Regions from separate parts of the Homo sapiens genome. Here region 1 is linked to region 2. The links are contacts of gene promoters, found by promoter capture Hi-C in human tissues and cell types (Jung and others, 2019). All regions are on one chromosome and are shown on one strand. The core of a region is centred on a gene start or on the middle of the fragment in contact, and the rest is flanking DNA. Distances in the headings are between cores, read along the strand shown.

Region 1 (3,945 bases), core at 1,419-3,918, 86 kb after region 2:
GCAGTTGTTCCTTGTAGTTATCTATAGGAACATCTGGAGCCTGTTGTATAAAGAAAGCAATTATGTGAGCCTGTGCTAAATCAAGCAGCTGACCAACTACTACCTCTTAGTCCCTGTTGATTCTACCTAATAAATATGAAGGGCTGTAGAAGCTCAGGGCCCTTATTCCCTAGAAGCAAGGAGCCCCCGACACTTTCTTTAAAACAGATCCTTTTCTTTGTCTCCATTTCTGCGTTCGTCCTCCTTTGTTCAGTCCCGAACCGACAGCCACATTTGTGGGTCATGCAGTGTCTAATTCTCCCAGAGAGCTCACCTGGTCCAGCACCAGCTGCCCCCACACAGGGGACGAGCTCTGCAAGGGCTCCGACTGCAGCCACCTCTTCCACCTGAGGAGGGCGCTGTCCACGCACATATGCGGATGTGTGCACAGATGTGGGTGCCAGTTTGCATTCCCCTCCCTTGTGGCCACCACCAGGCACATGCACTTGGGTGAGCACTGCCACCACTGCCTACAGTGTGGCACTCCCCTTGCTGACTGGGAAACTTGCTCCAGCACCAGCTTATCCATGCAGGAGAGAAGCCCTACTGGTGCTTTGACTGTGTGTGGTGCGTGCACCAAAGAGGCTCCCTTGGCCATTCATAGGCACACGCATACAGGTGAGAAGCCTCAGTCCTGCTCTGAGTGTGGCATCTGCTTCTCCTGCTAAAAAAAAGAAAAAAAGAAATAAAAGCTTGGCTTTTCCCTTTTTAGATGGAGTCTCACTTTGTCCCCTAGGCTGGAGTGCAGTGATGTGATCTCAGCTCACTGCAACCTCTGCCTCCCATGTCCAAGCGATTCTCCTGCCTCAGCCTCCCAAGTAGCTGGGATTACAGGCATGTGCCACCACACCCGCCTAATTTTTTTGTATTTAGTAGAGAGGGAGTTTCACCATGTTGGTCAGGCTGGTCTTGAACTCCTGACCTCAGGTGATTTGCCCTCCTCAGCCTCCCAAAGTGCTGGGATTATAGGCACGAACCATCGTGCCTGGCCTGACTTTTCTTTTCTTTTTTGAGATGGAGTTTCACTCTTGTTGCCCAGGCTGGAGTGCAATGGTGCAATCTGGGCTCACTGCAACCTCAGCCTCCCCGGTTCAAGCGATTCTCCTGCCTCAGCCTCCTAAGTAGCTGGGATTACAGGCATGCACCACCACTCTCGGCTAATTTTTTGTATTTAGTAGAGACAGGGTTTCACCATGTGGGTCAGGCTGGTCTTGAACTCCTGACCTCAGGCAATCCACCCGCCTCAGCCTCCTGAAGTGCTGGGATGGATTACAGGTGTGAGCCACCACGCCCAGCTGACCTGACTTTTCTTAACAGATTCATGCAGCCCAGGTTTTTTGTTTGTTTGTTTGTTTTTGTTCTATTCATTTAAACACAGAGTCTCAATCTGTTGACCACGCTGGAGCGCAGTGGTGTAATAATCATAGTTAACTGCAGCCTTGAACTCTTGGGCTCAAGTCATCCTCTCGCCTTAGCCTCCCAAAGGGCTGGGACTACAGGCATGAGCCACCATGCCCACACGCCCAGCCACAATTAGGAGGCTAGAGCTCCCGCCTTTTTTTTTTGTTGTTGTTGTTGTTTTTGTTTTTTGAGACAGGATCTCATTCTTTCGCCCAGGCTGGAGTGCAGTGGTGCAATCTTGGCTACTGTAGCCTTGACCTCCCAAGTCTCAATCGATCCCCCCACCTCAGCTTCCCAAGTAGCTGGGACTATAAGTGCCCGACACCATGCCTAGTTAATTTTTGTATTTTTTGTAGAGAAAGGGTTTTGCCATGGTGGCCAGGCTGGTCTTGAACTCCTGGGCTCAAGCAATCCCCCCACCTCGGCCTCCCAAAGTGCTGGGATTATAGGTGTGAGCCACCACACCTAGCCTGTAACTGTAGTTTTTTTTCCACCACCTCTGTTCAAACATCTCCTTCCTCTGAATATCTCACTGCTGCCTCCTCATCCTCCTCCTCCTTCTTCTTTCTTCTCCTTCCTCTTTTTTTTTTTTTTTTTTGAGACGAGTCTCGCTCGGTCGAAAGCTCCGCCTCCCGGGTTCACGCCATTCTCCTGCCTCAGCCTCCTGAGTAGCTGGGACTACAGAAGCCCACCACCATGCCTGGCTAATTTTTTATATTTTTAGTAGAGACGGGGTTTCACCGTGTTAGCCAGGATGGTCTTGATCTCCTGACCTAGTGATCTGCCCGCCTCGGCCTCCCAAAGTGCTGGGATTACAGGCGTGAGCCACCAAGCCCAGCCTTTTTTTTTTTTTTTTTTTTTGAGACTTAGTCTTACTCTGTCACCCAGGCTGGAGTGCAGTGGCACCATCTTGGATCACTGCAACCTCCGCCTTCCAGTTTCAAACAATTCTCTTCGGCTGGGCCTGGTGGCTCATGTCTGTAATCCCAGCACTTTGGGAGGTCGAGGCGGACAGATCAGCTGAGGTCAGGAGTTCAAGACCAGCCTGACCAACATGAAGAAACCCCATCTCTACTAAAAATACAAAATTAGCTGGGTGTAGTGGCGCATGCCTGTAATCCCAGCTACTCGGGAGGCTGAGGCAGGAGAATCGTTTGAATCCGGGAGGCGGAGGTTGTGGTGAGCCGAGATTGCTCCATTGCACTCAGCCTGGGGAACAAGAGCAAAACTCCGTCTCAAAACAAAACAAAACAAAACAAAACAGAAAACAATTCTCATGCCTCAGCCTCCCAAGTAGCAGGGACTATAGGCATGTGCCACCAAGCCCGGCTAATTTTTGTATTTTTAGTAGAGACAGGGTTTTGCCATGTTGGCCAGGCTGGTCTTGAACTCCTGGCCTCACGTGATCCACCCACCTCGGCCTCCCAAACTGCTGGGATTACAGGTGTGAGCCACTGCTCCCGGCCTCATTGCCTTCTAATTTTGTGACTTTTCCTGCCACATTGTTTGTCTTTATTCCTTGAAAGCTTTGAGGTTAGTGTTTTGCCCATAGTATATGCTTTACAATATTGATTAAAGGGTTAGAGAGATAGATGTGCATGTCACTAGCTAAGAGACATGGCAAATGGTGTATTCTCCTGCTCGCAGGACCCTTGGGGGTGGCATTGAGCTGGTGAAACTCTGCAGTATAACACATACATAGAAGTAGGGGCTAGGGCGGGCGTGGTGGCTCATGCCTGTAATCCCAGCACTTTGGGAGGCAGAGGTGGTTGGATCATGAGGTCAGGAGTTCGAGACCAGCCTGGCCAAGATGGTGAAATCCCGTCTCTACTAAAAATACAAAAATTAGCCGAGCAAAGTGGCGGGTGCCTGTAATCTCAGCTACTCGGGAGGCTGAGGCAGGAGAATCACTTGAACCCGGGAGGCCAAGGTTGCAGTGAGCCGAGTTTGCACCACTGCACTCTAGCCTGGGCAACAGAGCAAGACTCCGTCTAAAAAAAAAAAAAAAAAGGGCTGGGCACAGTGGCTCACGCCTGTAATCCCAGCACTTTGGGAGGCTGAGACGGGTGGATCACGAGGTCAGGAGATCAAGACCATCCTGGCTAACATGGTGAAACCCCGTCTCTACTAAAAATACAAAAAATTAGCTGGGCGTGGTGGCGGGCGCCTGTAGTCCCAGCTACCCGGGAGGCTGAGGCAGGAGAATGGCGTGAGCCCGGGAGGCGGAGCTTGCAGTGAGCCGAGATGGCGCCACTGCCCTCCAGCCTGGGTGACAGAGCGAGACTCCGTCTCAAAAAAAAAAAAAAAAAAAAAATGTGGAGGCTAATGGGGTGGGTGCTGGCTTGTTCCATCAGCAATTTTCAGTTCAGTGCCTTTCACATACATGCTTGTATCATTCTGTTATGATTCATTGTGAATTTATATGCTTTACTAGACTGTAAGCTCCATTCAAAGCATGGCCTATGACTTATTTATGTACGCTCTCCCAATTGCCTAGCACTATGC
Region 2 (6,298 bases), core at 838-3,337:
CCCCACACCCTTCCTTGGTATGAGAAAGGAATGAACACTACACACCATCCATAGGCTTATCCTACTCCAGTACTGATAGAAGTTAAACTATTCTTAAAGCGTATGGTATTAGAAGCATGGTGCCACGACCTCCATTTCCAGCCTAGCCTAATTCAACCTTTTTCAGGTAACGAGGCGCTTTTACACTCTTGGAGATAATATTACACTAATGTTAAATGGAATGTGAGTATCCAACAGACCTGATATACTACAGCCCAGCCCCCGAGCACCAAAGATTCTCCAAAACTCTCCACAAATATTCCCCTGCCACATTTCTTCTGCCTCACACTCAACAATCCACAAAGCAGAAGCAGAGAAGGAACTCTTCCCACTTTCAAACCTGTGTCTGTAGGACTGGGAGCTGAGGGTGAGCAGGGGAGGGGCTGCTCTGCATGGTCCCACTCCCAGGCTCCCCCTTGGATGCCTGAAGAATGACTGGGTTGTTATCACCAGTACTGCTGGCCGAGGGGCTGGCGTCCGGCTGCAGGGCATGCTGGGAGCTGGCCTCATTCTGGGCCACCGGCCACCGGGACCCGCCTTCCAGGGCCCGGGGCCCACCAGGGCGTCCCAGCCTCCGCTCAGGTCCACCAGCCTCTGGAGCACCTAAAGTAGGGTTAAAAAAAAAAAAAAAGACAGAAATGCAGTTAAAGGGGATGAAAAAGTATTTTTAAAAAACCAGAAATAACACTGAATAAAGAGAAACACAGAAATTACAGGTTACATTTCTTGAGCACTTACTATGTATAAGATACTTTTAGTACCTGTTTGATGTGTTCTATAATCCTCACACCTACCTTAAAAACCAAGTGCTTTTCACAGCATAACAAATATTGACTTCCTCCTACACACAACGGATATAGCCATGCAGAAAGGATTCCCGACCTAAATGTAGCTTACATTCTAATATAATCTGTTTTGTAAGTTACGAAGTTAAGACCTTATGATTTGCGGAAGGTTACACAGTAAAAAAGTGATAGGAGGGCTTCAATCCACAGTCTGATGCCAAAACCAAGGAAAACCTGCTACTCTTCCTGGTAGAGCCAGGTTGACCACGTTTTCCTCAACCCACAGCCTCAGTTCTGTTGTTGTACTATAATCAAACCCTCTACAGAAAAATCACATGCAAACATTCCCATGCTTCTCTAGAGTGAAAATCCCCAATACGGACCTATAATTGCTTTATCTCAAACATTTCTCCCATTAGCATCAGCACACAAAATGGTAGCAGATCCCTCACCTGTGTGAGCTGAGACCACACCCCCTGTGAAAGTCTGCACTTCCACGGTGCCGCCGTACTGAAGGGAATCACACCTGAAACATCCATCAAAGCGTATTATTTACTCCAGTTTTTTGAGACGTTTAAATATACCCAAATCAGTTAAAAGACTAGAAACAGAAAAACTACAGTAGTAGGAAAATCTCACATTTCAGGGAAATGCAAATCATGTTTTGTGAATTCCGGAGGGACATACGATCCTGCCTGGGGGCAGGAGCAGGAAAGGAGTGAAGAAAGAAAGTTCAAAAATTTTAAGTGTAAAGGCTCCAACCACAGAATGGAAGACAAAAAAAAAATACAGCAAAAAAAAGCTGTCACATCCAGAACCTCAGAAAGGTGCTACCTGCCTGCGGGCCTTTCCAGTGAGGGCTGAACGCAGAAGTGAGAGTGGAACTCCCGGGAAGAGTCAACAAACAGGCTGGTCACAGGAAAATCCGCCCAGGATTCAGGGCAGGGCGCTGTATATCCCATACCTGCGCCTTGAGACACTTCCCCAAATACAAGAACCACAGCAAAAGGAGACTCAGGAGCAGTCAAAAGCGAGAGGCCGCACTGCCAAGAACCACGCGCCGGAAACAGGCAGTGTGAACCCGCAGGAGGCCCGGAAATGCTTCCCCAGTGTTTAAGGAAATTCCTAAACCACAGTGCCGGCTTTGATTCACTCCCTACTCCGCCACACGTTCCCAAGACCCGAGCTCACCAGAAGCCAACAAGCCTTAACTCTTGACTTCAGGTTTCGTGACCATCTCCCTAGCCCTCCCGACGGACTGACCTCGCGTGACCCCTGACCTCTGCCCAAGTTGCCACTAGCCCTGAGATAGCCCCGCCCCCTCCAGACTCCCACCCCACCCAACGTGCGCGCCGGGCGGGGGAGGGGCCCGCGCGTGCGCGGCTGGAGGCGGAGCGAGCCGGCTGCGCGCACGGCCCAGGGGCTCCCGCCAGAACCCGAGCCCACGCACACAAGGGTCGCGGGGCTGGGAAGCTCGTCATCCAAGCCCGTCAGGGAGCCCCCCCATCACCCGACCGCGAAAGGCTGAGAGAAGGGAGGGTTCGTGCCACCAGGTCCTGGTCCCCCGGCTAGATGTGGTGGGCGCGCGCCCCGACTACTCGTCCCACGCCCCCCTTCCTCTTCCCGCGCGCCCCTGAGGGGTGACTGGGTTGGTGGGCGGGCAGGAGCGCACCTGGGTCCGTCCTCTCAGGGCTCGCTCGCTCGCTCGCTCGCTCAGGCACGCGTGCGCAGAAGGGCGGGAAGGGAGAGGAGACACGCCGGGGCCCAGCGCCGGCCGGCCTGACCCCCTCAGTCTGTCTCTATGGGCGCGCGCCGACAGCCTCGCGCACCGGCCCCGGGGCCCCGGCTGAGGGTGCGCGCGCAGCACCCCGGGAAGGTGGGGGGGAGGCGGTGGCGGAAAGATGCGCGCGCAGTCAGCCGTCATGGGAGGGGGAACTGTGGGGCGTTCGCCATCTTGTCTCCCTCTCCTTACCTGCGTCCTCGGGGGCGTGCGCACCACCCCCCCTCCCGCCTAGGAGGGGGGAGGGCCCCCTCTTGGCCACCGCCTTCGCGGCCTTTAAACTCCCCTGGAGACTGCGGCTACTGCCACCGCCTTGCCTCCACTGCCTCTTCGCGCAGCACACAGATGCGGACGGTGGGTGGGAAAAAGGGCAGACGCTACTCCCAGCGAACCGCCGCTGCCGCTCCCGAGGCCTCACCAAAATGGCCGCCGCCGTCTCGGCCGCCACCACCACCACTACCACCACCACTCGCTCGGAATCGCTATCGCCGGCGCGGCCCGTCTTCTCGCGAGAGACAGTAACTGGAGGGTGGGGGAACGGGGAGGCTCGCGTGCTAGCGTAGGGTGCAGCACGGTGCGCAAGGCAGCCTGGGAGGTGTAGTCTCCCAGAGGCTGCGCGCTCGCCCTTCCTCGGAGCGCCTTTACCGTTTGCCCCTAGATCTACCTGGGGCTGCATTGCGGCTGCCAGCTCGGACCACCGCCACCTCCCTTTTTATTTACAGATCACCCAGTAAGCTGCAGCAAGTTAGCAGTGGAACCTGGGCCTCCCGATTCCCATGGCAGCCCACTTCTGTAGCGCTGCTTCGTTTTACGCGAGGATGGTTTCCTGATAGCTTTCAAACACCTTTGCCATCTCTTCGCAAACTTTCTAGATTAAGAATCCCTTTGAGAATCTGATACCTTTACCCCAGAATAGAACAATAAATAACAGCTACCTTCTACTGACACTACTTGGTGCCTTGATTATTTCTTTTAATCCTAACTGCTCCATTTTACAAACGAATTGAGGCTCAGGCGTTAAAACACAGTGACAGATCCTGAAGTCAAGATTCCTAGCCAAGCAGTCTAAGCCACAAGAATGCACTCGCTGTCATAAAATTTTACCACCTAAAGCCCCCGCTAAGAGGCCAGGTTAGGAAGCCCTGATGAAGCTCCCCTTCCTCCATTCAGTTTAGCTCTTCCCTGCGAAGAGGATTGTTGGTCCCATTTTACAGATGAAGTTTGGGTTGAAAGAAAAGTGGATGATGCCCATCTTTTCTAGACCCTCCTCCCATCACCCCCAGAAGAGGGGATCCCAGGCCAGAGCCTGAATTGGACCTAGCCTTGTGCCATTAACTCCTTGCTATGTGACCTTGAGCAATTAACTTCACCTTTCTGAGCTTCAGTTTCCTCTGTAAAGTGAGGATAGAATTGCTGATGTAAAATTGCTTTGAAAGATCTAAAGGGCCAGGTGCGGTGGCTCACACCTGTAACCCCAGCACTTTGGGAGGCCAAGGCAGGAGGATCACTTGAGGCCAGGAGCTCAAGACCAGCCTGGGTAACATAGTGAGACGTCGTCTCTACAGTAAATTAAAAATTTTAAAATTATGAAAAAATAAAAAAGCTCTAAAGGACTACCTAAATGTGGAGTATATTTCACTATAGTTCAGTGTTTCACACCCATGATCTTAAGGTCAAGGTTAGCTTTCTGATGTGCTTTACATAGTATTTATTTATGTATTCATTTGTTGAGATAGTCTTGCTCTGTCACCCAGGCCGGAGTGCAATGGCACAATCTTGGCTCCCTGCAGCCTCTGTCTCCCGGGCTCAAGCAATTCTCATGGCTCACCCTCCCAAGTAGCTGGGATTACAGGTGTGCACCACCACACTCAGCTAATTTTTGTATTTTTGGTAGAGACAGGGTTTCACCATGTTGCCCAGGCTGCTCTCAAACTCCTGACCTCAGGTGATCCACCTACCTTAGCCTCCCAAAGTGCTGTGACTACAGGTGTGAGCCACCGCCCCCAGCTGCTTTATATAGTTTGTTTTTTGTTTTTCGTTTTTTGTTTTTAGAGACAGAGTCTCGCTCTTTACCCCAAGCTGGAGTGCAGTGTCACGATCTCTGCTCACTGCAACCTCTGCCTCCCGGGTTCAAGCAATTCTTATGCCTCAGCCTCCCAAGTAGCTGGGATTACAGGCACTGGCCACCATGCCCAACTAATTTTTGTATTTTTAATAGAGCCGGGGTTTCTTTTTTTTTTTTTTTTTTTTTTTTGAGACGGAGTCTTGCTCTGTCCCCCAGGCTGGAGTTCAGTGGCTCAATCTCGGCTCACTGCAAGCTCCGCCTCCCAGTTTCATGCCATTCTCCTGCCTCAGCCTCCCGAGTAGCTGGGACTACATGCGCCTGCCACCACGCCTGGCTAATTTTTTGTATTTTTAGTAGAGACGGGGTTTCACCGTGTTAGCCAGGATGGTCTCGATCTCCTGACCTCGTGATCCGCCCACCTGGGCCTCCCAAAGTACTGGGATTACAGGCGTGAGCTACCACGCCTGGCCTAGAGACGGGGTTTCACCATGTTGGCCAGGCTGGTCTCGAACTCCTGGACTCAGGTGATCTGCCTGCCTCAGCCTCCCAAAGTGCTGGTACTACAGGCTTGAGTCACCACGCCCAGCTGCTTTACACAGTGTTTTCATGTTCTGGGTATTATTAAAACTTCAGGAAGCCAGGCACGGTGGCTCACGCCTGTAATCCCAACACTTTGGGATGCCGAGGCAGGTGGATCACCTGAGGTCGGGAGTTCGAGACCAGCCTGACCAACGTGGAGAAACCCCGTCTCTACTAAAAATACAAAATTAGCCAGGTGTGGTGGCGCATGTCTGTAATCCCAGCTATTCGGGAGGCTGAAGTAGGAGAATTGCTTGAACTTGGGAGGCAGAGATTGCGGTGAGCCAAGATCACGCCATTGCACTCCAGCCTGGGCAACAAGAGCAAAACTCCATCTCAAAAAAAAAAAAGAAAAGAAAAATTACTTCAGGCAAGAGAATGACGTCTCCGATGTGCCGTAGGCCCCACCATTCCCAATTGTTTTGCACGGGGCAACTTAACACATTTGTCATATCTGGCACCTAAAGGCAGTTAAACTTGTGACCTCTTGTTTATACACAAGCGTGTCAACGAGCATGTTCTCCTAACCAGCATTTCCTCTGCCTGTTTCCTATCTGGCCCTGTGCTGTGTGCAGTGGGAGAGAGGAGGGAAGATGGCACAGTCCCTGCTCTTAAGAACTTAGTCTCATTGCAGGATGAGCTGTGAGCTTGGTAAAAGGCATGGCAGTGTTGCGGTGTCTCAAAAGAAGGGTGGTCAAGGAACTCTCCAAGGGTCAGGTTGGATACCCAGTGGGGTATCAGGGAAGGCTTCCTAGGGAAGTATCATTTGAGCCTGGCCTTGAAAAATTTAGGCATGAAGGCAGGCACTCCAGGAAGATGACACAGCCTCCACAAGGCTGATGGTTGCCGGAGGAGGGCGGGGAATGGGGGACAGTGAATCAGCTTGTGCCCCAGTCTGGAGTGCAGTGGTGCGATCATAGCTCACTGCAGCCTCAACCTCCTGGGCTCAGGTGATCCTCCCACCTCAGCCTTCCAAGTAGCTGAGACTACAGGTGCACACCACCAGGCCTGGCTATTTTTTATTTTTTTGTAGTGAAAGTGGGAGGTCTC

Evidence for each region. The method cuts DNA at HindIII sites, captures the fragments that hold promoters and counts their contacts. A contact is called where the count stands out against the background at its distance.
Region 1: a contact is called between a fragment that was not itself captured here and the fragment with the promoter of SRCAP in region 2, in 2 of the 25 tissues and cell types used here (heart right ventricle and small bowel).

What each region holds. Positions count from the first base shown.
Region 1 is chr16:30,612,010-30,615,954 of GRCh38, reverse strand. LOC124903678 (a long non-coding RNA gene) reads right to left here. Exons shown (of 2, transcript XR_007065051.1): 2 at 1-703. Among named protein-coding and RNA genes, the nearest start is that of ZNF689, 3.6 kb to the right of the region's middle. RefSeq lists a silencer at 96-336. The HindIII fragment of the contact is 7,596 bases long and covers 1-3,945 here.
Region 2 is chr16:30,694,960-30,701,257 of GRCh38, reverse strand. SRCAP (Snf2 related CREBBP activator protein) reads right to left here and starts at 2,087. Exons shown (of 34, transcript NM_006662.3): 1 at 2,016-2,087; 2 at 1,277-1,350; 3 at 380-642. The coding sequence starts at 433. LOC730183 (a long non-coding RNA gene) reads left to right here and starts at 2,198. Exons shown (of 2, transcript NR_144637.2): 1 at 2,198-2,377; 2 at 3,327-3,551. RefSeq lists silencers at 2,067-2,296, 2,437-2,846 and enhancers at 2,016-2,310, 2,967-3,156, 3,187-3,276. The HindIII fragment of the contact is 12,049 bases long and covers 1-6,298 here.